Regions from separate parts of the Homo sapiens genome. Here region 1 is linked to region 2. Evidence: promoter capture Hi-C in 16 types of primary human blood cells and fetal thymus (Javierre and others, 2016). All regions are on one chromosome and are shown on one strand. The core of a region is centred on a gene start or on the middle of the fragment in contact, and the rest is flanking DNA. Distances in the headings are between cores, read along the strand shown. Region 1 has its middle 67 kb from the start of VRK2. Region 2 holds the start of FANCL (FA complementation group L).

Region 1 (2,700 bases), core at 68-2,567, 260 kb after region 2:
GTTGGATAAAGAAGCAAGACCCAACTGTATACTGTCTTCAAGAGTCATGTCTCATATGCAATGACACCCATAGGCTCAAAGTGAAGAGATGGAGAAAGATCTATCAAGCAAACAGAAAAGAAAAAAAAAGCAAGCGTTGCTATTCTTATTTTAGGCAAAACAGACTTGAAACCAACAATGATCAAAAAGGACAAAGAAGGGCATTATGTATTGATAAAGGGTTCAATTAAACAAGAAGACTTAACAATCCTAAATGTATATGCACCCAACACTGAAGCACCCAGATTCATAAAACAAATTTCTGTAGACCTTGAAGAGACACATAACCACACAATAATAGTGGAAATTTCAACACAAATTGACAGTGTTGGACAAATCATTAGGACAGAAAACTTACAAAGATATTCAGTACCGAAATTTGATATTTGACCAAATGACCCTGAGAGACATCTACAAAATACTCCACCCAACAAGAGAATTTATATATATTTTTTCATCTGCACACAGCACATACTCCAAGGTTGACCACATGCTCTGCTATAAAGCAATTCTCAACAAATTCAAAAAAACCAAAATCATACTAATCACACTCTCAGACCACAATGCAATAAAAGTAAAAATTTATGCCAAGAAGTTCTCTCAAAAACCATACAATTACATGGAAATTTAACAACCTGTTCTTGAATGATTTTGGGTAAAGAATGAAATTAGGGCAAAAATAAAAAAAATTCTTTGAAACTCATGAAAACAAAGATAAATATACCAGAACCTCCAGGACACAGCTAAAGCAGTGTTAAGATAAAAGTTTATAGTGCTAAAAGCCTACATCAAGAAGTTAGAAAGGTCTCAAATTAATGATCTAACAGCACATCTAGAGGTACTTGAAAAATAAGAGCAAACCAACCCCAAAGGTAGCAGAAAAGAAATAACCAAAATCAAAGCTGAACTGAACGAAGTTGAGATGCAAAGATTCATGGAAAAAGTCAATGAAACCAAAAATTTGTTCTTTGAAAGAATTAATAAGATTTATAGACTCTTGGCTAGATTAACAAAAAAAGAGAGAGAGAATCCAAATAAACATAATCAGAAATGACAAAGGGAGCATTACCACAAATCCTACAGAAATACAAAAAACCCTCAGAGACTATTATGAACACCTCCATGCACACAAACCAGGAAACCTAAAATAAATGAATAAATTCCTGGAAACACAACCTTCCAAGATTGAACCAGGAAGAAATTGAAATCCTGAACAGACCAATAACAAGTTCTGAAGTTGAGTTAGTAATAAAAACCTTACCAACCAGAGAAATCCCTGGACCAGACATATTCACAACTGAATTTTAGCAGATATATAAAGAAGAGAGGGTGCTAGTGCTGGGGTTAAATTATTCCAAAAAATCAAGGAGGAGGGACTCCTCCTTAACTAATTCTATGAGGCCAACATCATTCCAATACCAAACCTGGCAGAGACACATGAAAAAGGAAAATTTCAGGCCAATATCCCTGGTGAACATAGATGCAATATCCTCAACAAAATAATATCAAATTGAACCTAGCAGCACACATTAAAAAGCTAATTCACATGCAAATCAAAGCCACAATGAGATACCATCGCATGCCAGTCAGAACAGCGATTAGTAAAAAGTCAGGAAACAATAGACGCTGGCCAGGCTATGGAGAAATAGGAATGCTTTTACACTGTTGGTGGGAATGTAAATTACTTCGACCATTGTGGAAGACAGTATGGTAATTCCTCAAGGATCTAGAACCAGAAATACCATTTGACCCAGCAATCCCATTACTGGGTATATACCCAAAGGAATATAAATCATTCTACTGCAAAAACACATGCACACGTATGTTTATTGCAGTACTATTTACAATAGGAAAGACATGGAACCAACCCAAATGCCCATCAATGATAGACTGGATAAAGAAAACATGGTACATATACCACATGGAAAACTATGCAGCTATGAAAAGAAAAAGTCAGGAAACAATAGATCATATCCTTTGCAGGGACATAGATGAAACTGGAAGCCATCATCTTCACCAAACTAACACAGGAACAGAAAACCAAACACCTCCTGTTCTAACTCATAATTGGGAGTTGAAGATTGAGAACACATGGACATGGAGAGGGGAACAACATACACCAGGGCCTGTTGTAGGGTCGGGGGTGAGGGGAGGGAACTTAGAGGACAGGTCAATAGGTGCAGCAAACCACCATGACACATGTATACCTATGAAACAAACCTGCATGTGCTGAAAAAGAAAAAGGAAGAAAGAAAGAAAGAAGGAAGGAAGGAAGGAAACAAATCAAGTAAGCCAATATATAAAAAAAAAAAGATACTTGGCCTGAGGGATCACATGATCCATGTCTCTAGTGATGTGGCACCCAATATGTCAATCAATATGATTTAGATCGGGATGGTAAGTTGGCAGCATGTTTGAAATTTCATAAAGATTGTTCTGCTTGCCTTAATTTTATGATGTCAATGACTTAAATTTCATAAAATGTTTATTAAGCAAGTGACTGGCTTTTTAGGTCTTCTGTTATCAAGGCTTAGAAGTGGACATGGCTGAGATCTAGAATGTAGCTATGAGGCAAATCGAAAGTAAAGCATTATGTCCCACACTGTGAATTTGTAGGAATTACTGTAATAATTTTTTTCTAATTGTTTCTGACTATGTCCA
Region 2 (2,700 bases), core at 23-2,522:
CCGTTTCTTTAGAGATAAGGATATTTCTTTCCTGTGGGTATAGGAAGAGCACCTCTGGATTGAGGATCCAATGACCCGCCTCAGGGAAGAAGGATGGGAGAAGGTCAGAGAGTGATCTTAGGTTTTGTTGTTTTCTCAAATGTCAAGGGGCCATATTTTGGGGTAGCATATCCTGAACCCCATCAGCGGTGAAAACTTGTATTTCTACATAGTTCCCAGGTGATGCTGTTGCTAGGTTCTAGGATCACGTTTTGAGAACCACTGCTTTAATGTAATTTATATCTAACCACTGCTCCAGCATTCTTTTCTGTAAGCATCCAGAATGCTGTGACAAATTCTTGTCAAACTTTAAGAATCTTCAGGATGTCAAATTCTGTCTTGAGGTCAATAAAGATGGGTAGGGGACGAAATAATCTTTGCTCAACCTTTGGCACATTACAATGATGTTTTTCAAATAGTAGGGCTCAAACGTGATGCATTGGAAAATTGGAAAATTGGAAAATCAAATAATCATATGGTAAATATTTTAGTAGGTTTCTTATTTAATCAACTCTTAATAAGATGGGATGGATAACATTCCTGAGTTAGAAAAACATATTGCAAGCGCTGTCAGAGGAAAATTAAGTTCAAGTCCATCAGCAATCTTTACTCATGTTTTGCTTTATATATTTGTGAGTGCCGTACACAGAACTGAGTCCAGTGTTGACTTGAGTCTAATCAATACACATATACGTATACATGTGTGTGCCTCAAATATATCTGATTGAACTTAGTAAGCCACAGAACTGTAATATATATGATATAATCAATGTGTTATACATTATATTACAATAATTATACACAAAATAATACATTATTCTGTATGTTAAGGGAGAGAGGACAACAGCAAAGAAGACAGAGTGCTACAACGTCCAGGCTGTAAAAGTCATTTTATTCTGGAGGAAATGCAACACCAAAGTTGTAACAGTCTTTCAATAAAGTAAAACAGAATCATCGAAAGGGCTCCTGGGACAATTGAGGCTAGAATGATCTTGGTCAGTCAGTCCTGTGGACTTGAGGGCAATCTTCCCTCCCACTACCGGTTGGGGAGCCCTGATGTCGCCTCCCGCAGAGCGCCACTTGGCCTGGCCTGCGCTTCACCTTCATTTCCGCCCGCGGAATCCTCCAGGATCTTCCCGCCAAGGCTGGGGTTTCCGCTCCGCGGCGTCCGAGCGCCAGCGGACTGCGCATGTGCAGGACCCAGCAGGTCTAGAGCTTTTCTGTGTTTCTCCGGACTTCGAGCCATGGCGGTGACGGAAGCGAGCCTGTTGCGCCAGTGCCCCCTGCTTCTGCCCCAGAACCGGTCGAAAACCGTGTATGAGGGATTCATCTCGGCTCAGGTACCCGCCCAGTGGTTGCTTTCTAGCTAAGAGAGCCTCTTGCAGCGTAGCTGCGCGGAGAAGTCTGTGACGGGCTAGGAGGTTAGGGGCCCAGACTTGTGGGGATTGAGAGGGGCGGCGCGTAACGGCTCTTGGGAGACTAAAGGTTTGAGAAGCGCCGCTGTCGCCGCCACCCCGGTGGTCGCCGCGCTGGATGGGGAGCGAGGAGGCGCGCGGCGTGGAGCGGGGCTGGGGCCACGCCTCCTCTCTCCCTAGCCCTTCCCCGAGTTTGGCTTCCTTCTTCGTTCAGTGTCCCGCAATTGACTGTTTTTTAATTTTTTTTTTGTAAATTTTGCCTTAACTCGATTTTAACACCCTCCACCTCCACGGATGTTGATGAGTTCACTCGGGAATCTGGGCTAATTATTTTCGTGTTTCCTGTAGAAAGAACATTTGGGAAGAAAACCTTATTTTGGCCCTTTGCCAAGTCGTATGTACCTGTACACCCACAGTTACAATATCTTCTAGGAGAAGCATGACAGCAATGGAATTAATTAACTTTGCTGATTCCAGTGGCCTCTCATATGGAGTTTATTACACATACTAACACATGTGTAGGGTTTTGAAGTTTACAAAGCGCTTTCCAGGTAAATAGTTCACTTAATCCTCAGCCCTTTGAGGCAGAAATTTTTAAAAGAATCATCATTCCCATTTTCTAGTTGAAGAAATCAAGGTATGGGAAACCGGAGACGTTATTTGCTGATGATCACATCAGAATCCCTTAAACGCAGGCTGTGTGATTTCAGTCCTGGATTTTTTTCTCTTTACATTGCACCAGGATACCTTAGGTTAGGAGTGTAGACTTTTCCTTTCTGACCATTACACTCAACCTTGTGCCCACTTCCCCACCATCACGCATAGTCTTTGAGTATATGTGGAATTACCATATGACCATCACAGAAAGTAGAGGTTAAAAATTCATTATTCCATATGGAAAAAAGTTAATCCACCTTTCCCTCTCCAATTAGAAGTATTCTTCTTGAATTACCTAGCTGAAAATATGATTCTCTTGTAGACAACATTTAGAAAAGTTGAAAAATTTTAAGTTACTTTTTTTTTTTTTTTTTTACAGGAAGCATGTTATACCTAATTTTAGGCAAAATACTGTTATGTATGTCTATATCTGCTAAGGCCTTTTAGGAAACAAGTACACCCATTAGAATTGAGATTAGATGAAAGTTTCTTTTATGACCATTGCTATAGCTAGAATTCCAATTTGTACCTGCCTTAGCAGTTTATTTAAATCTTAAACATTTTACGTGTCTAAAAATATTTTGTATAT

The links. The method cuts DNA at HindIII sites, captures the fragments that hold promoters and counts their contacts. A CHiCAGO score of 5 or more calls a contact.
Region 1: a contact is called between a fragment that was not itself captured here and the fragment with the promoter of FANCL in region 2, in 4 of 17 cell types (monocytes, naive CD8 T cells, total CD4 T cells and 1 more). The highest score is 6.8, in monocytes.

Annotation. Positions count from the first base shown.
Region 1 is chr2:57,978,287-57,980,986 of GRCh38, reverse strand. It overlaps a transcript of VRK2 not described here. Among named protein-coding and RNA genes, the nearest start is that of VRK2, 67 kb to the left of the region's middle. RefSeq lists an enhancer at 1,298-1,905. The HindIII fragment of the contact is 3,252 bases long and covers 1-2,700 here.
Region 2 is chr2:58,239,897-58,242,596 of GRCh38, reverse strand. FANCL (FA complementation group L) reads left to right here and starts at 1,272. Exons shown (of 14, transcript NM_018062.4): 1 at 1,272-1,379. The coding sequence starts at 1,284. RefSeq lists an enhancer at 925-1,084 and a silencer at 1,625-1,674. The HindIII fragment of the contact is 7,787 bases long and covers 1-2,700 here.